7 separate regions of the Homo sapiens genome follow, and all the other regions are linked to region 7. Evidence: promoter capture Hi-C in 16 types of primary human blood cells and fetal thymus (Javierre and others, 2016). All regions are on one chromosome and are shown on one strand. Each heading gives the region's core, a stretch centred on a gene start or on the middle of the fragment in contact. The rest is flanking DNA. Distances are from core to core; before and after follow the strand shown. Region 1 holds the start of TRPV5 (transient receptor potential cation channel subfamily V member 5). Region 2 has its middle 26 kb from the start of OR9A2. Region 3 has its middle 34 kb from the start of PRSS2. Region 4 holds the start of TRPV6 (transient receptor potential cation channel subfamily V member 6). Region 5 overlaps TRPV5 (transient receptor potential cation channel subfamily V member 5). Region 6 has its middle 27 kb from the start of EPHB6. Region 7 holds the start of TMEM139 (transmembrane protein 139).

What was found. Contacts are between HindIII fragments. The CHiCAGO score rates a contact against its expected background, and 5 or more counts as called.
Region 1: a fragment that was not itself captured here is called in contact with the fragment with the promoter of TMEM139 in region 7 in 1 of 17 cell types (neutrophils); the score reaches 5.3 in neutrophils.
Region 2: a contact is called between a fragment that was not itself captured here and the fragment with the promoter of TMEM139 in region 7, in 1 of 17 cell types (neutrophils). The highest score is 5.4, in neutrophils.
Region 3: a contact is called between a fragment that was not itself captured here and the fragment with the promoter of TMEM139 in region 7, in 1 of 17 cell types (activated CD4 T cells). The highest score is 7.0, in activated CD4 T cells.
Region 4: the fragment with the promoter of TRPV6 here is called in contact with the fragment with the promoter of TMEM139 in region 7 in 1 of 17 cell types (neutrophils); the score reaches 5.2 in neutrophils.
Region 5: a contact is called between a fragment that was not itself captured here and the fragment with the promoter of TMEM139 in region 7, in 1 of 17 cell types (neutrophils). The highest score is 6.4, in neutrophils.
Region 6: a contact is called between a fragment that was not itself captured here and the fragment with the promoter of TMEM139 in region 7, in 3 of 17 cell types (naive CD8 T cells, total CD4 T cells and non-activated CD4 T cells). The highest score is 5.9, in naive CD8 T cells.

What each region holds. Positions count from the first base shown.
Region 1 is chr7:142,931,395-142,934,094 of GRCh38, forward strand. TRPV5 (transient receptor potential cation channel subfamily V member 5) reads right to left here and starts at 2,352. Exons shown (of 15, transcript NM_019841.7): 1 at 1,938-2,352. The coding sequence starts at 2,065. The HindIII fragment of the contact is 1,328 bases long and covers 631-1,958 here.
Region 2 is chr7:142,999,559-143,002,258 of GRCh38, forward strand. No RefSeq gene overlaps it. Among named protein-coding and RNA genes, the nearest start is that of OR9A2, 26 kb to the right of the region's middle. The HindIII fragment of the contact is 1,734 bases long and covers 452-2,185 here.
Region 3 is chr7:142,803,225-142,805,924 of GRCh38, forward strand. It overlaps TRB. Among named protein-coding and RNA genes, the nearest start is that of PRSS2, 34 kb to the left of the region's middle. RefSeq lists a cis regulatory region at 1,479-1,880. The HindIII fragment of the contact is 5,985 bases long and covers 1-2,700 here.
Region 4 is chr7:142,884,412-142,887,111 of GRCh38, forward strand. It overlaps TRPV6 (transient receptor potential cation channel subfamily V member 6), which reads right to left and starts at 1,334. Exons shown (of 15, transcript NM_018646.6): 1 at 978-1,334. The coding sequence starts at 1,225. The HindIII fragment of the contact is 18,692 bases long and covers 1-2,700 here.
Region 5 is chr7:142,906,616-142,909,378 of GRCh38, forward strand. TRPV5 (transient receptor potential cation channel subfamily V member 5) reads right to left here. Exons shown (of 15, transcript NM_019841.7): 15 at 1,486-2,193. The coding sequence ends at 1,899. Among named protein-coding and RNA genes, the nearest start is that of TRPV6, 22 kb to the left of the region's middle. The HindIII fragment of the contact is 4,444 bases long and covers 1-2,763 here.
Region 6 is chr7:142,826,839-142,829,589 of GRCh38, forward strand. No RefSeq gene overlaps it. Among named protein-coding and RNA genes, the nearest start is that of EPHB6, 27 kb to the right of the region's middle. The HindIII fragment of the contact is 944 bases long and covers 981-1,924 here.
Region 7 is chr7:143,283,508-143,286,207 of GRCh38, forward strand. It overlaps TMEM139 (transmembrane protein 139), which reads left to right and starts at 1,451. Exons shown (of 3, transcript NM_001282876.2): 1 at 1,451-1,938; 2 at 2,434-2,695. The coding sequence starts at 2,451. It overlaps TMEM139-AS1 (TMEM139 antisense RNA 1), which reads right to left. Exons shown (of 3, transcript NR_133932.1): 1 at 2,470-2,700; 2 at 2,211-2,331. RefSeq lists an enhancer at 1,477-2,676. The HindIII fragment of the contact is 11,639 bases long and covers 1-2,700 here.

The DNA.
Region 1 (2,700 bases), core at 45-2,544, 350 kb before region 7:
ATACCCTTAGATGCAAAGGTCTAAACAGCTTGTTTATGTGGGTGTCTCAAGGCAAAACAGGTTGAGATACTCATTCTACAGGACCTCTGTTAATCTTTGCTTCTACCATACCCAGATTTGAACCCAGAAAGAGATAAAGCTGGAGCCTCTCCAACTAGACATATGTGTATTGGCCCCAAAGGCAAGCACATGGTGTAGGGGGAAGAACAGAAAGGACAGGCCGATGAGTGGCTCCTCTGAGGTCCCCACCTCCAAATCCCTCTCTTCCAATAGCCCCAGGAGCCAGGGCGAAAAAGTGTTTTTATTTTATTTATTTATTTTTTTTGAGACGAAGTCTCACTCTATTGCCCAGACTGGAGTGCAGTGGTGCGATCTCGGCTCACTGCAACTTCCGCCTCCTGGGTTCAAGTGATTCTCCTGCCTCAGCCTCCCGAGTAGCTGGGACTACAGGTGCCCACCACCATGCCTGACTAGTTTTTTTATTTTTGGTAGAGACGGGGTTTCAGCATGTTGGCCAGGCTGCTCTCGAACTCCTGACCTCAGGTGATCCACCCATCTCGGCCTCCCAAAGTGCTGGGATTACAGGTGTGAGCCACCACGCCCAGCCAAAGTGTTTTCATTTAAAGAAGAAGCTTTTAATCTAAAGGTGGGGCCTGGTTTTACCTGTTAAGGCAGTGCTCCTAGGAGGGGCCTTTGTGAGGAGTCAGTTCCCTGCCCCGTCTCACCCAGGGAATCAGTCCCAGGGAGCCTGGTGTCCCTGACCAGCCTAGAGTGGTCAGGGCTGAGATTGCAAATTCACCCCCATCCTGAGGCCACTGCACAAACAAAGTCCTTGCCTCCCTGGCCCTCTATCCCCACTGCCCCTCTGCAGAGGGTCCAAGTTGGGGCTGGAAGCTCACTTTCTCAGAGACCCAGGGGTCCCACTCTAAAGCAGGAAGGTGAGATTCCACTGGAGGTATTGGGTGGGGAGATGAGGAAGCAGAGGGCTTGACAGTATGAGGGCTCAGAGGTACTTGGGACCAGGCCCAGTGTAAACTGCAAATGCAGGACCCCTTGTTCAAAATTATTAAGAACTTGAAGATGAGGACAGCAGGGCATTGAACAAAGCACAGGAATCTTCTGGAGTACAGGGGAGCCCTTTGTGACTGCTAATGTCTGCTCAACAACCTCACCCCTCAGGCAGCTGTTGGGTGGGAGGCAAGCCCCAAAACACTTGGAGGAAGAAGCAGCCCACAGGATTCGTCCCTGCCCCAGCTGCTCTTCCTGGGACTGGACCTCAGGGCTAAGCCATGAAATGATTTACCTGCAGGTGTGCTAGCCCTGCCCGAACTAAGAGCTCTCCAGGAGCAGGCACAAGTCTCATTCAATCTTTATGTCATTGGGATCTAACACCCCTCTGCACACAGTAGACTCAATAAAAGGCAGATGGACTGAACTCAGAGCCCTCCAGTGTCACCTGAGCTGCCCTCCTCCACTGGTCAGCACCCAGTGTTACACCAAACAAAGCGCTCCTCCCCTTTCCCACACAGTCCACTTTCATTCAAATGAATGGCGTTTCCTTATCGTGCTTCCACCACCCACAGGAGTGCATCCCTTCTTCAGCAGCCTGCTTCTGCCTTCCCTCCCCATCCCACACAACCTGGCTTCTTCCCTCTGGTCCTTTTTGGTCCTTTCACTCCCCCTTGGCTGTCATTCTGCCTCTGTCCTTAGGTCTACCCTCAAGATTTTCCTGTGTGGCCCAAAGCCACATCCTCCACCGCCACTAAAAGGGGCCAGCTGGGATTCTGTAATTAGGTGGGCTGGAAGGAAAGGGTATGTCTGAGTGACTGGCACTGACAATACACTTCTAGGGTGCTGTATTCGGAAAGCAGGCCCAGGTGGGTCAGAGGGTCTGAGGATCACGGCGGTAGGGCCACGGATCGTTCTAGGAAGCCTACCTCTTCTGCTGCAGCATATGAAGCTTGTCCAGGTGCTGGTCCCAGTCTTGTTCTCTGACCAGAAAGGAGGGCAGAAGTTTCTGGAGTTGGCTCCCGGGCCCTTCTGCCTTAGGTAGAAAACCCCCCATGTCTTCTCCTTGCAGACACTGGCAGATTATAGAAATGTGGCGAAAGAAACAGGTCTAGGATGACAGCAACTGAGCAAGAGATGGGGTCTATTTGGGGCTGGGACTCTGAGTTTATCTCCTGTATGACTTGTGTATGCAGCATGCAGCTTGTAGGTGTGTGTGTGTGCATGCAGTATGTGGGTTGTGGGGTGTGCGTGTATGCACAGTGTGTGGCTGTGGTGTATGTGTGTGCATGCAGTGTGTGGTTGTGAGGTGGTGTGTGTGCATGCAGGTGCGCTGAGGGGACTGACCGCCCTGCCTGGGGAGAAGTGCTTTTCCTGGAGGGGGAGGAGCTCTTTGCAGAGCTGAGCCCCACAGCCACAGAACCACCCTGGGGAAGAAAAGGAGGAGGGGAAGGAAGGTTCCTAACTGTGGGCTGGGATGGCTGAGACCCGAGAAGCTAAGAGGTGGGGCAGAGGAATTTGGAAAAAGAAAAGGGATGGAAGGTGGGTCCACAAACAAGGTGCACAGTTAGTTGCATGAGGGAGAGGAGGAAATAAAGACTTCCAGCTCAAGAGTCAGGCAGAGCCTGGTTCAAATCCTGACTCTTATCCCTTACAGTTAGGTGAGCTTTCTGAGCCTCAGTTCCTAACCTG
Region 2 (2,700 bases), core at 69-2,568, 280 kb before region 7:
TCCAAAACACCACCAACCTGAAATGTGTTATTCCATTTTCCAGAGACTCTAAGTTTTAGACTTAATCATCAAAAGTTTTTATATTTTATTTAAATGTTAGGCATGAAAATCAGTCTTAATAGATTCTATTGAGCATACCTGAATGTCTTCTTGGTTTCTCAAGACGATCATTAGGATGCCACTGTCATATATACATGATCTCAGAGAAGGTTTGCTCCTGCACTAAATGAACAAAAATGTCTTAAGTCCTTTGGTCAGCTTTGTACAGTTGGTTTTTAATTTCTCTCAACATGTCTCTTGATTGAGAGCTAACACACTGCTTGTTGTTTTCAGTAGACCTGTCTTTTCTTATCTCCTTTCTATGAGTAAATCATTTTATCAAGCTTATTTCCAATAAATAAACAAACAGATAAAAGGGACTCTAACAGACTTCCTGTGAGTAAAGTGGCTAAGCTTTATGTGGTTCATGGACTTTGTAACATTTATTTTGTCTGCTTGCTGGTTTATTTTGCTATTTTCTGATTCCTAGCTATGTTCTAGAAAGACTACATAGTTGAGTTTTGGATTAATAAGATATATATGTTAATTATAACACTTAGAGAATCAGGATCATATAGTACCCCAAATACAGATGTTTTTAAAAGTGCCAGAATATCAAAAGAAGATATAACTATATTCAAATATTAAAGCATCAAAGCATAATATACTTCCATGGTTCAAAATTTTAAAGGATACTTTGAAACACTTTTCTATCTGATCCTCCTCCCTCAAGGCAACCAATGTTATCACTTTCTTCTGTGTCTTTACAGAGGTAATTTTAAGCATATACGTCTGCATAAGCAAATGCATACAAGCACATTTTCTTTTTGTACAAATGGTAGTATATCGAACATATGTCCTATGCAGTACAGATCATTGTATATTTATACATAAGACATTCTTGGTTCTTGTTTCCTTTTTTAATAACTCCAGATTATTCCACCAAATGGAATACATACATTATTTCCCTGTACACAATATCTAAATGACAATTTCTAGAAGAGGAATTGCTAGGCCAAAGCGTAAAAGCATTTGTCACTTTAATATATATTACATAATTGCCCTTCATGCAGGCTATTACATTTTACACTACCTATTTTCACGCAGTGTACTATAAAACTTTTTGACATTTGCCAGTTTAATAACTGAAAATAGTATCTTAATATGGCTTTAATTTTTATTGTTCTCCTTATGAATGAAGATGAAAATATTCTCACATGTGCTTATCTTTTGCCCATTTTTCTGCTGAGTAGTTTTATTTTTTTCTTATAGGAGCTTTTTACACATGATGCAAACTAACCTTTTGTGATATGAGTTGAAATTGTTTTCTGGTGTTTTCGTGTGTCTGTTTACCTTGGGGTAGTATTAACCATAGCAAATTTTTAAAAAATTCTTCATAAAGTCAATCTTCTATGACATCTGTGTTTTAAGTCATCCTAAGAAAGGTCTTACCCATTTTTATAAACATTCTTTTATTTCTTATGTTAAATCTATGTTTTTTTTTTACATTTAAATATTTGACCCATTTTAAACAGCCTGGTATGACATAGGCAGTAATGGAATTAACTTTTGTTTTTTAGGTAGCTGCTAGTTTGTTTGACCATTTATTGAATAATTCATTTTTTCCCAATGATAGTACTGTTTACATTATAGCTATATAGTCTGTTTTACAGATGTAGTTATTCCTCATTATGCTTCTATTTCAGAATGTTTTTGAAAATTTTTTGCTTGTTTATTTTTCCATAATAAAAAGTTTAATCTAAGCTGGGCACGATGGCTCACATGTGTAATCCCAGCTATTCAGGCGGCTGAGGTGGGAGGATCACTTGAGTCCAGCAGTTCAAGTCTGTAGTGAGCTATGATCATGCCACTACACTCCAGCCTGGCTGACAGAGCAAGACTCTGTCTCTAAAAATATAAATGAATGAAATAATGCATGAATAAAATGTAATCTGCTTCTCTAGATTTAAAAAATACTATTGATTTTTAAATTGTGATTGTATCATTTTTATGGATACACTTAGAGGAGAATTGATATCTTTGTATTGTTTACTCCACCTTTCCATTTGCTCAAATCTACTTTTGTGTCTTTCAGGAGCATTTTTTTAAATGTCAATCTAGTTTAAATGTAAATCTTTACTTGTTAAGCTTATTCCTAATAATGTTATATTTCTTTGCTTTTGCTTTTGTAAATGAGGTTCTTTCCTTCCATTATATTTTCTAACTTAATGTGTTTTATATGTGAAGTCTTTTGACTCTCAATATAAATTTTGTGCCCAGCCACATTGGTTTTTTACTTTATTTTGTTGAGATTTCCAGATAAACAAATTATTTAAAATTCATGTTAATCTTTTTTTCTCCTCCTTTTTAACATCTTGGCCCTGCATTTTTTTTCTCTTGTCTAATTGCATAGGCTAACATGCCAGAAATTTTAATTAGTTTACATAGAGATGCAGTACATAAATTTAAATTGAAGATCTGTCATTACATAAGACAAAGGGTATGTGTGTTATTATTTATTTTAGATTGGTCCATCCTCTCACCAGGAGCTCAGGCAGCTGTTAAACTCTGGAAAGAGGGCCTAAAAAAGATAGGGGTATGGATAATGGAAGCCCTGCATAAATTCTAAGCAAAGTGGCAGAAAGCACTTTCTAACCCACC
Region 3 (2,700 bases), core at 187-2,686, 480 kb before region 7:
TTGAGACAACTGATATGTAAAGCCTGGGGAAGAGTGATTTCTCAGGAGCGAGACACACTAAGTCAGGAGCAATGGGATATAGGGCCCAGTGGGGGCTGAAGTGCTATGTTCAGAGTAGCCCTTCCAATGGGCTTCTTCGTTTGATGGATGGAAACCAAACCACTCCAAACACAAGGTGTTAACTGCTCCTACTTGGGCAAAGACAGTTATCCTGTCAAGGTAAATTCTGCATACAGGCTGAATGCATTGTGGTAAAACACTACATGGAGGAAGAGGAGGAATGGGATTAAAGAAAAGGAGGCCTAGAACAGTGAGAGGGGCTGAGAGAGGCCATGTCGAAGTTAGTTGAGGAAGACTGTCAGGGGAGAGAAGAGAAGTCTGAAAGCAGAGAAAGGTTGGGAAAGAGGAGGGAGCCCTTTGTTGAGAGCCTGCTTGCTTCAGGCCTCAGGCTGGACGCTGCTACCTGTGCTGTCTGCATCTGCACAATGATCCCAGGAACAGGTATTATTTTCCCCATGTTATAGATGTGGAAACTGAAGATTACAGTTCAAATTACTTATGAGTTGTGAAACCGTGGCATGTTCTGCTGAAGATGGCAATTCTGGAAACTTTTTCCAAGTAGTTACCAGGATGGTGGGATTGCTCCTGGTATCTGGGTGATCCTAGAGCAGCTTCTCCCAAACTCCAGGCAGGGCCCATGGTAACACACTGAAGACACCTTAATGCCTTGGTGTCTTTGTTTCCCACGGCTGCCGTAACAAAGTACCACTGGTGGGTTTAAAACAATAAAAACTTATTCTCTCACAGTTCTGGAGGCTAAAGATACAACACCAAGATGTCAGCGGGTCATCCTGTATGACAGCTCTAGGGGAGAATCCTTTCCTGCTTCTTCCCATGTCTGATGGCTTCTGGCACTCCTTGGCTTGTGCCAGCATCGCAGCAATCTCTGCCTCTGTCTTCACATGGCATTTTCCCTGTGTCTCTGCATTTAAGCTCCCCTCTCCTTTCTCTTTTCAAGGCATGGTCTTAGGATTTAGGGCCCACCCTAAATCCAGAACAATTTTATTGAGAGATCTTAACAAATTATACCTGCCAAGTCCCTATTTCCAAATAAGGTCACATTCTGAGTTTCTGAGTGGGCATGAATTCTGGGGGAACACTCTTCTTCCCACTACACTGGGGATCTTGGAACTGGAGAAGAGGGTTCTCTGGTGGCAGCTTGCAAAGACCAGGAAAGGATGTGCTCACAGCAGGGATGGGGCCCAGGAAACTCATCACATGCCGGTCATTTCCATCAGTCGTAACTATCTCTAGACTGCTCAAAATGCAGTATAGTATTTTGTTGGCTATTGTTGTTACATATGTGCTGGTTTGTTTTTATATTGGCTAAAAAAAAGCCTAAAACAAAGGGGACAGGCTTTAGGCCCTAGACCAACATTCATGCTTCCCACTCCTTAGACCTGCGTGGAGGCAGCAGGCATATCCTTGTGGCTCCTCGCAAAGGTAGGACAGGAGGATGAGCAGCCGAGGGAACAAGGAAGCACTTCAGAGAGAGCAGAACTGTGGGGGCCAGAGGGCGCAGGCTAGGACTGGGGATATTGGAGGATAGTGGTTTGTGTGGGCAGAGCTGTGAGGGGCTGAGCAGCTGTAGTGCAAGATTAGAGTGGAGGTGGGAAGGGGGAAACACCTTGTAGAAGAAAGATAGTGTCTGTTAGTTTGATGGCCATCATCTTGGGGACGTGGAAAACGGAGGCATTAGCAGGTGGGAGGATGTGGGAGGAGTTTCTTGTTAGTACCCTAGAGTTTGCAATCAGACCCAGGTGAATGAATTCTCCTCTGGAGGATAAAAGGCCATGTGAATTTTACCCTCTCAGTCCAGGGGACTTGACAGAGATGGAGAGAGCTTCAAGCTCCATCTGGTCCTCCCAACACCCTACTTGACCCAGGGCAGGTTCCTCTTCCCAAGTTTTTACAGCCATTTCCTTGTCTCTCTCAAACAACACCCCCAACATTCAGCACGCATGCACTGGGAAGTGAATCTCTTCTGCCTCTACCTGCCTTTTTCTCTAGAATCGAAGTGGATTCTTCTGGGCCAATTCTGGGCATCCTCTCCATTCTTCCTCAGGTAACACTGAGAAAAGATGAGTTCGATGTAGGGCAATAATATAACTTACTGTAAGAATTGAGATACCATTGAAAATGAAAGGGGCCCATTGGCCACATGGGATGCTGGAACAAGAGGAGTAAACCAGGAATGGTCACAAGGCCCCTCCAGTGGAGAGGCTCTGAGGGAGTTTCTGGGTGCAGCATTATTCCTGCAAAGGGAGGTACTAAAGGGACTCCACACCAACCTGGACTTGTTGACTGGTTCAAACCTCAGGGCTGACCTAAGCATCATCCTATGAAGAAACCATGTGGACAGAATATAGGGCAAGGCAGGGACAACAGCATCCAACACAGGTGACACCCAGTGCAGAGCAAAGCATGCTTACTTATTGAAAAGAGTTACAAGAAAAGCATCTCTGGAAGAATGTCTAGGGTACCCCAAGTTCTCGCTGAACTTAGCATGGAGTAGCTCTTAAAGAGAAGAACTTCACCTGTGACCTTTACAGATTTATTTGGGAAATTGGAAGAAAAAGGGGGTCATCCAAATGGTTGTGTAATAAAATAACTTCTTTGTGGGGGAAATGGGATTCCCGT
Region 4 (2,700 bases), core at 84-2,583, 400 kb before region 7:
CCAGACATCTGCCTCCTTCGTGACCCAGGGAAAGCCCCAACAGGCAGGACTTCCTTCTAGCATGCCACCAACTGGGTAGAGAACTCTATTAGAGACCTTGAAGAAGAGACCACATGCAGGGATAGCCCTGAGTTCCGATTCCCTGCTCCTCTCCTGCTCTGTACTCCAAGCTGTCATGGTGAAGAAAGCAGGACACGGGTTTAGGAAGTTTTCAGGGGCTGGAAGCCACCAGTGAATGTCCTTAGGGCTTAAACGCTAGAGTCTCGATTTCCACCACCTGAATGCGGAAGAGCACAGGTCCTCGGAACATCTGTTATTTTGACCCGCTTCCCCTCAGTCCCCACCCGCACTGAGAGAGAAATACACCTCAAGGTTGGGTTTGAGCGTTGTAGGTCTTCATATCCCCCCAGTGCTGGGCAAATAGTAAGGCCTTGGTCAGTGTCTGATGAGACAGATACATAGGAATGGTCACTTTTTTCACATTTTGTCTTATTTTCTGGTTCCTGGTGTCCGCGGTTCTCTCTGCTTCATTCATTCAATCGTTCACTCATTCCTCCATGCGAACATATGTATACTATGTGTTCCTGCCAGAGAGACTGTTCTAGAGGCAAGCAGTGGAGATACAGAAGGCATTGTCCTCACCTGCCGTCCCCTCTTGGGTGGAGGGGCTGTGATGCTCTATCCTTACAAGCCCCAGCAAGACGCCTGGCCCTTAGAGAAGTACTCACAAGAGGCTTGCAGAATCGAATTAGATCTTAAGATAGTGAACACCTGTGCCCATCTCAACCCCATCCTCTTTCACCAGCCCTACAGGCTGAGGCTCTTAAGACAGAATGCTCCCAAGGAGCCAGTCCGGGCCTGGGAGCACCATCTGTCCAGCCAAAGGTGCCAAACAAAGACGGGAGGTGAGGGAGGGGTGAGGGGTAGAGGTGCAGGCCTGGGGAGGTGGGGAAGGGAGCAGACCAAGGGGGCCTTACCTCTTCTGCTGCAGCAGGTTCTGCTCATCTCGGCTCTGGGCCCAGGACTCCCGTCTCTGGAACCATCTGCAGAACTTGCTCCATAGGCAGAGAATTAGCCCTTTCTCCTTGGGCAGTGACAAACCCATGGGGTGTAGGGCCGGCTCCTTGGGGGCCTGAGGCCGAGGCCAGACCCTGACGGGACTCAGCCTTGGGGCCACATCAGCCCCCCCAAGGGCCGGCCCACCGTCTCCCTGTAGAGGTCCCGTCTCCTGTCTCCTGCCTTCCTGACGAGTTCCTTGGGAGTCTCCCAGCAGCCCCAGCCAGTTTGGAGAGGGCTGTGAGTTTGTTACACTTGGCAGAGCCAGCCAGGACTCTGCAGGGCTGGCCTGTCTGGAGCTCCTGCTGGGAGTGAGCAGGAGGAGCCAAAGCTGCACGGACACGCCCTCCCTCCTCCCAAATTACCTGAGATTTAAAGACACAGGCCAGCCACAGACCTGCCTACCAAGGGGGACTTGTGCCAACTCCAATTCTTTCTCCACCCAGGGCTCTCTCCCTGCCCCCAGGCCAGTCACAACCAGGGAGGCCTTCAGAAAGACTGGCGAGGCCTCCCTTGGACGTCAGAACACCCAGTGACCTACCCTGAGAGACTCTAGGCAGTGAGAAAGGAGGGGAGGAGTCAGGGCAGGCCCATTCCCAATGTTGAGGACTCCCAGGAGGGAGCGCCCCACTTTCCCACAGTGCCTCTTCTGCCGACCACCTGCCTCACTCTCTGCCTCCCCCTGCTTATGTCCTGGAGAATTCCATTTTCTGGACTCTTCCAGTTTCATTCTTGCCAGGCCTGAAATAGGTATATAAATTGCGAAGATACTCAGTTCTCCCAGACTTTCCTCTCAGTCCCCATCACCTTTGGGTCAGCAAACTTTTTCTGGAAGGGCTGATAGGAAATGTAAAGATGTTAGGTTTTGCAAGCCATGTACACTCTCTAATGTACGTTATTCTTTGGTTTTGTTTTGGTGGTTGTTTTCTAACCACCCCCAAAGATGTAAAATGCATTCTTCGCTCACCAGCCAGGGCACAAAATCTAGCTCTGGGCAGACCCCCTGCTCAGGAGCTCCACAGACTGTCCACAATGCCCCGTGCATGGGGTGGGTGCCCGATAAAATACAGGACACGTGGTCAAATTTGAATTTTAGATAAACAACAAAGAATTTTTTAGTATAAATATACCCCACGTTTTGCAAGTATTCTATCTGCCAGCCTTCCCGTGGAGGTGACATTCAGCTGCTACTGTGTGCTGGGCCTTTTAACTGAGCGTTCCCAGGTAAACTCGTAACAAACCTGCAAGGCAGGTATTATTATCTACATTGTATTGATGGGAGAAACCAAAGCTCACCATGGTAAAGGAACTCTCCCAAGGCCATAGAGGTGGCAGAGGCAAGATTCACACCCATCCCTCATTCCAAGCCCACTTCTTTCTCCCTAGCACACCTCCTCATTCTAACTGGCCAACAGAGCTTCAGAGAGGTTAAGTGACTCGCACAGTCATACAGAAGAATGATGGCATTAAGCATGGCCCATCGTCTTCCCACAACAAAGAGCTCCATCATGAGCTTGCTGGAAGCTGTCGGAAAGGTCATTTAGTTCAACTTTTCCACTGGAAAGGGGCAGAAGCCCGGGCTTATCCAACCTCCTGGTGCCAGCCAGGTGCCAATAGCCTAGGGGCAGGTGTCTGGGTGTTCAG
Region 5 (2,763 bases), core at 54-2,553, 380 kb before region 7:
TTCAGCATGGGCAACAGAGCAAGACCCTGTCTCAAGAAAAAAAAAAAAGGACTACAGAAGCAGAATTTTAAAGTGCTTCTACTATGAAGAGAATAAAGAAGAATGATGGTGACTGAGCAGTTTTACATACCCTGCCACCACTGTGTCCCAGTGTGTGCGGGCGTGTGTATACACATTGTGCAATCCCTCACTGCTGGGCACTCAGCCCTGGGCTGGTGTATCTGAATTAACTGTCTGTGGTTTCACAAATACCACTTACTTCTTTGTTATCCCAGACCACAGTCCTTTGAAAAGCTGACATGGCTTTTTGCTAAGGGTGATGATGGGGCTGGGATTAGAAGTATAGTGCTGGAGACACAAGAGAGGCTGACCATGAGCACCTATAATGGGTGCCCTGGACACATGATTCCTAATTTCCCTCCTGGAGAGGGATGACCCTTCCTCTATTGTTGCTGTTCCTTTCACAACTCAGTGTGGGGCAAAGGGAGATGGGAATGGAGGATGGCTATGTCAGGAGAACAAGCAGGAGCCTGTTGCCTCCAGGCACAAGGATGATTAGCTGCTAGGGACAGAGCAGGAGGGTCCTGGAAAAGAAATGATTAGGCCATTCAAATATAGGCCTAATTTACCATACATTCTTAAAAACACACCAGGATGCAAACACTTCAGACTGTGAGCCTCAAAAAGCAAAGATAAGGCAATTCAACAACAACAAAAACCTAATTCGAAAATGGACAAATAAACTGAAAAGACATTTCTCCAAAGAAGGTATATAAACATCCAATAAATAGGTGTATAAAAACGTGCTCAGTATCATTAGTCATTAGGGAAAGGCAAATCAAAACTACAATGTGAAGCCACTTCACACCCATTAGAAGGGAATGTAAAATGGTGAAAGCTATTGTGAAAACCAGTATGGCAGTTCCTCATAAAACTAAACATAAGAATTGTCTAGCAATTCCATTTTTAGGTGTATGCCCAAAGTATCTGAAAATAGAAACTAGAACAGATATTTGTATACCATATTGATAGCAGCATTATTCACAACGGCCAAAAGGTAGAAAAAACTCAAATGTCCATTGGTAGATGAATAAATAAACAAACTGTGTCAAATTTTGGACTAAGATTGCAGAATCCCACTTACATAAGATACCTAGAATAGTTAAATTCATAGACAGAAAGCAGAATATTGGTTATCAGGGACCAGGGCAGAGAGATAGCTGGAGAGTTATTGTTCAATGGGGATTAGAGTTTCAGTTCCGAATGATGAAAAAGTTCCATAAATGAATAATGGTGATGGTTACACAACAATGTGAATGTACTTAATGCCACTGAATGGCACATCTGAAAATGGATAATATGGTAAATTTTATGTGACATGTATTGTGCCACAGTAAAAAATTAAAGAAGGCAAGAATAAGGAGACTTTTTTATTGCAGTTGGTGTTTGCTTGCTAAGTGGAGAGAGAGACCTACAGGAGGCTGGGAAAAAAAGAAGGGCCACAACCTCTATGCCATGCCTGGCTCTTCCCACGTAAGCCCTGGGGAGCCAGAAAAGCCTCACAGCTTACTACTTTCTAGGGGCTGCGTGGGGCAGAAGAGAAATGGTCCTGACATTAATCTAGCATCCCTGCCTCATGTCTTTAGTTGCCAACCTCCTTTTTCCTGAGATGGGTGACTTGCAAGAGCCCAGAAAATACGTGAGACAATCGATGACCATTGCCCATTGCCAGAAATTCTGATGTGAAGTGTGAGGCATGACCCTTTAGGGATTGTTCTGTCTCACCCTCCCATGATTAACAGGCACAGAAGTTAGACACTTGCATAGGCAGAGGTCTCCGTCTCTGTCCCCGCCCCCAGGCCAACCGGGAGTAAGGTCAAGAGTGATAGCGATGTTAATCAAAAATGGTAGACCTCCTCTCCATCCCCCTCACTAAGGTTCAGTCCAAGATTCAAGTGCCCCAGGGTGTTTTGACGAAGGATCTCCCAGCCTCGGTGACTGCTGCTCTGGGACGCGGTCCGGGACAGGGAGGAAGTTGGAAGAGCCAAAGAGGCTCTGGCTAGAGTCCCACTCTCAGCCCCAGAGGGCTGTTTCTCAGATGGATGCTCCTGGTCATCCTCCTTGTCTGAGTTCTTGAACACTTCCACATAGCGAAGCACTCGCAGAGGATTCTGATCATTGTGGTTCTCAACCCTGATAAGGGGAAAGGGGAAAGGACTCAATCCAGGTGGGGAGACATGGGCAGGGGAGAAGTAGAGGTGACCATTTAGAAAGCAGGGTCAAGAGGGAAGCAGAAATAAGGCAGCAGAGTTGAAACAGGAAGAGTATCTGGGATCAAGTGAAGGGAGGTGATGGAGGGCAGGCTAACCTGGGATAGAGATAATGGAGGCTGAGCAATCAGGGCTTGCAGGGTGGTAGGACGCACACAGGTGTGTGTGTGTTTGTGTGTTACTAATACGTAGGAATGTGAAAGAGAAAACAGAGCCAACTAATAGATAAGCGTGTCACAAGGATGACGAGATGCAATTCAGGAAGTAAATTTGAGGAGAGAGGAGAGTCACGCCGGGAGATGAGGGCAGAATATGAAGGAGGAAGTTAGATCCAAGCCAAAAGTACACTGGAGATGAAGGTCAGCTCAGAACAAGGTTACAGCAAGTCTGGTAACCCATGCTGACGTCTGAGCATGGACACATGCACACAACCTTTTACACGTGGCTGCCCTGAGGTACACACAGCATTCTTCGTACCCCTCCACTTCAGCTC
Region 6 (2,751 bases), core at 203-2,702, 460 kb before region 7:
CCAGCCTGGGTGACAGACAGAGACTCTGTCTAAAAAAAAAAAAAAGAAAGAAAGAAAGGCACAGGTCCACACAAAGACACAAATTTTCATAACAATTTTATTTGTAATAGTCAAAATTTGGAAAAAATCCAATTGCCTATTAATGGGCGAACTAATGCTGAAATTGTCATGTATCCACACAAAGGAAAATTAGCAATAAAAAGAATGAACTATTTAAATTTAAAACAACATAGATAAATCTCAAAATAATATGATGAATAAAAGTAAAGAAACAAAAAAGAGTACATAGTTTATAATTGCATTATATTAAATTCTAGAAAACACAAAGAAATCTATAGTAATAGAAGAAGCACTCTATCAGTGTTTGTCTGGGAACAGCATGGAGAGAAGGATGGAATTATAAAAAGCCACAAGGCTATTCACAATAGCAAAGACATGGAATCAAACCAGGTGCCCATCAATGGTAGATTGGATCAAGAAAATGTGGTACATATACACCATGGAATGGTACGCAGCCATAAAAAAAGAATGAAATTATGTTCTTTGCAGCAAAATGGATGCAGTTGGAGGCCATAATCCTAAGCAAATTAATCCAGGAACGGAAAACCAAATATCGCATGTTATCACTTAAAAGTGGGAACTAAACATTGAGCATACATGGATATAAACAATGGAACAATAGACATTGTGAACTACCAGAAGGGGGAGAGAGACAAGGGGAAGTGTTTTGAAAAACTACCTATCAGGCACTATCTTCTGTACCTGGGTGACAAGATCTGTACTTCAAACCTCAGTACAAACCTCAGTATTAGGCAATATTCCCATGTAACAAATCTGCACATGTTCTCCCTGTATCTAAAATAAAAGTTGAAATTTAAATAAATAAATAAATAGCGGGCCACAGCAAAACTTTTGGAGGTGATGTGTAAGTTCATTACATTAAGTTTTATGATGGTTTCCCAGGTGTTTGCGTATGTCAAAGCTTACCAAATTGTACATTTTAAAGATGTCTATTGTTTGTCAAGTGCATTTTAATAAAGCTGTAAAAGAAAGAATTATTTTTGATACAGTGTTAGGACAACAGAAAACCACTGAGAAAATTTAAGCAAGAGAATGTCAATAATTAATGCCACATTTTAACTAATTAACTGCAATTAATCACAATCAATCAGTAAGAAAAGGTTTTGTGCTGAAGATTTTCCAGAGAGATAAGTAAGCAAGTATATCATGCATGCAGTGGAGCAGGGCAGAGCCTCATAAAATCCCTCTTAAACGTGTCTGTTCTTTTGCCAAATTTCCATTCTGGTTGCCAGCTACCTTTTTCCTCCTCTTTCTTTCCACAGCCACTGCCATCCTCATTATAGCCCCAGACAATTCAGCTCTTGAAAGTGTATCCAGCAAAACAAAAGTGTAACAGCAGCTCAGCACCACTTGGAAAGCAGTTGCATAGCCACCTCTTTCTCTACAAGCTCAGTCCTTCCTGAGGTTGCCCTCTCACCTATTCCCCTACATCAAAAGTGACTCATCAAAGTATTCAGTAGACAAAATTAGTCTCTATCCAGGGAGAATTCACTACTTGGAAAGTAAGATGTTCTGTTTCTCATTACATACAAAAAAAAAAAAAGTTGATAAAATCACAGAATTCAGTTTGAGAGAGAGGAAGATACTAAATGTCATTTGTCATTCTGACCTTGAAGTCACATTGAGTCCAATTCAATCAGAAAAGTGCAAGTGAAAATTTGGATTTTTAATGAGACACCAGGACTAGAAATACTGACTTCAGGGGTCATCCGCAGAGAGAAAATAGTTGAAATGTTTGGAATGGATGAGATCTCCAAAGCAACAAGTGAAGAAAAAGGAACAAAGGTCCAAAAATAAAAACTGTTGAACATCCACACTTATAGGTAAAAGGAGGGGAAAAGTAAGCTTAAGAAATTAAGAAAGTAGTTCTAGAGGGAAGACAAGAAATGGGATGGTATCTTGGAAGTTCAGAGGAGACTGTGGGTACAAAGAGGTGGCAGCAGGATTTAAAAGAACTTTAAAAATTCAGTAAAATTAGGACTGAATGACTTCACCGATGTTGTTGACTAGAGGAGGAGAAAGTAGCAGATTCAGAGCACTCATTTGACAAGTTTAGGGGCAGAGCGAGTAAGGGAGAGGTTAAAGGGAATGGTAGAGTTGAATACAGTCTTTTATTCCAACGTATTTATAGTCTGATTATATAGAAAGCCAAGAGGAAGAACTACATAAAGACAGGAAAATTGAAGATGCTAAAGAAAGAAGATATTTGAGAAACAAAGAGGCATGTGGATTAATTATTGGACATCAAGAAGGGGGAACTTTTTTCCTCTGAAATAGGAAAAGAAGAGAAAATGCGTAAAAGATAGACCTGCACTGAGGAAGGCCAACATACATACAGAAAGAGGCTAGATCTAATGATCGGTTGAATGTAATGTTTTTAAAAACCCACCATTTCACCCATCAGATTGGCATAATTAAAAGAATCAATAGTATCTGATGTTGGCAAGCATGTAGGGAAATAACATGCTCTCATGCACAGCTGGAAAGTAAACTGCAACAGTCTTTATGGAGGGTAATTTGGCAGTGTTTATTGAAACTCCACATGGCCGGGCGCAGGGGCTCACGCCTGTAATCCCAGCATTTTAGGAGGCCAAGGCGGGTGGATCACAAGGTCAAGAGATCGAGACGATCCTGGCCAACATGGTGAAACCCCGTCTCTATTAAAAAAAA
Region 7 (2,700 bases), core at 201-2,700:
CTTCCCATTCCCACAACTCACTCCTTAACAAACCCCCTTTCCTATCACACACACCAATGACCCTTGGCCAATTTCCTTCTATTCATATGTTAACTGTAGACTGCAGTCCTGATTCCAGCTGTACTTTCCCCTTATGAGCAGAACAGTGAGGAAATTGGCTGAAACAGAACAACAATCAGCCCCCCTCACTCCTGTGCCTACTTTGCATAGAGACACACCTCATTTAGACTCCCACAGCCTTCCTGTTAATGTCTCCTTCCTCTCTCTGCTATCGATCTGGGGCTCTGGGACAGAGAATCTTCAATATCCCACCAGTGCCCACACTTATTACCACTACAGACACAGTTATTCTCATTCCCATACTCTCTCTCTCTCTCTCTCACACACACACACACACACACACCCTCTCCTATGCTTCCCCACCCCAGCTGTCCCTGGGGAGCCTGGATTGGATTTGTGCCCACGGTCTGCAGCTTCCCTCGGTCTGTCTGCTGGTCACCCTCTGAAGGAACGGGGCCCAGTTTTGTTCACCCTCTGGCTCAAGGACCAAGTATGCTTCTACTCACTCTCTACCTCCAAGCACCTACCCTACTCCGACTTAACTGCCTGACCCACAACTAAAAAGAACAGCTCTTTGATCTTCACAGGTGTGGTGAGGCCTGGTGAGAGGGGAGCCTTCTAGTTAGTGACCTACCACGTTTCAGGAACCATGTTAGTTTCCAGGATTCAGAGATGATTAAAACTAATCACGCACCTTGAGAAACTCACAGTGGAAGGAAAATCAGTAAGCAGAAAAATGCTACATAACCAGGTAAATGCTGGGACAAATTTAGGAAGGAACGATGTGGATACACTGGAGCAGGCTCCAAAGCAGCATCACCTCGGAGGAGGATCTTGAAGACTCAAGAGTTAACTGGGTCAAGAAATATACACACTAACACTTCTGACAGGTCTGCAGAATACAGGGAGTCCATAAAAATAGCACTTGGGTAATGGAAGCAGGACACACCATTCCATGCCCACAGCATTACTTTCTGTGTGCAGTGCACTGTGTGATGATCTACAGAGATTAAATAAGCCGAGGTCTCCGCTTCCAGTCACTTGGGAGAGACGCACAAGGTAAATTACCCAAATAGAAGGCAAACTGCCCAGGGCTGTAATTAACATACAATATGCGCCGAGAGGGAAAGGTTAATGCTAACTCCGGTCCTAAGTACAAAGATCATTGGGAGTCAGGGGTGCACTCTCATTAGGGTACAGCATGGGTGGGTGGAGAGAGTAAAAACCAGAACAAATCAAGGTTCAGCAGTTGGAAGTCAGCCTTAGGGAGAAAAGGGGCGGAGACTGACTGGGCCAGAACAGGGATTGGGACAGAAAAAGAGGGTGGGGCCAGTGGGCTCCACCTACCCGCTCCGGCCCTTCCCACCACCCCCCACCCCATCTACTTTCTACAGTCTGTGGAGACAGGTGAGCGACGAACTTCTGAGACAGGTGTGGGTGCGAGGGTCGGGAGGGTCATGGGATTGGGACCGAGGTGTGAGGAGGGAATCTGCAATTCCTTGCTACACAGAGCGCTGGCAACTTCTGACAGGCTGTTTCTGGGGTATGGGCTGCCTCGGGTTGTTGCTGTTACAAGGAAAGAAAAGAGTTCCCCTGCCCACCGCCTCCCAGCCACTGGGCTACCTCCTGGCAGGAAATTTGCAAACTGAGTTTAACAAGTTAGGATCAGCAGAGGGTAGAGGAGGGCCCTGGCAGATGTGGGGTCTAGAAGAGGACAGGAGTTATCAGGGCCTCCGGCCATTGTGCTGGGCCTTTGCCTGTACAATTGTTTCTCAAGCAGTTGTGTCCCTGTGGCTTTGGTGCGCCTGTGTGCACTTTCTCCCTCCACCTGGAGCATGGGCTAACACCGGAGGAAAGGAAAAGACAGAGTCAGACAGGGTAAGTGGGGCTCCCTCCCCTCTTCTCTCTAACGGGGCTGGATTGAGGGCCTCTGGCTGGGGAGGTGGGGGTGGAGATCCAGTAGGAGCAATAACAGAGGAAGGGCAGGGCCTGCCCCATCACCTGAATTCCAGAGATGCCAGTGTGCACTGAAGCCCCAGGCAGGGCGTGCCCAGGACCGGATCCTGGATGGTGGTAAGGGACAAAGCTGGAAGGGAGACTACAGGGAAGGAGAAAGGAAAGAAGGCAGAGCCATGACACAGTCAACTTACAGAATGGCTGGGAGTCAAAGCTCCTGGGCTGGTTTCCTGGCTATTCCACACACTCCAAGACATAGAGAGAATTTCGGAACTGGAGGGGACTCTACAGATGATTTATTTGAGATTGAAGAACCTAGAAACCAAACAAAGAAATATCATATGGTTACTTTGGTATCTGACACAGCCATGACACCAATTGCTAGTGTAGACACAATAGCTGTGTGTCTTTTTGCAGGAGCCTGGGGAGGGGCCATGGTGCCAATGCACTTACTGGGGAGACTGGAGAAGCCGCTTCTCCTCCTGTGCTGCGCCTCCTTCCTACTGGGGCTGGCTTTGCTGGGCATAAAGACGGACATCACCCCCGTTGCTTATTTCTTTCTCACATTGGGTGGCTTCTTCTTGTTTGCCTATCTCCTGGTCCGGTTTCTGGAATGGGGGCTTCGGTCCCAGCTCCAATCAATGCAGACTGAGAGCCCAGGGCCCTCAGGCAATGCACGGTGAG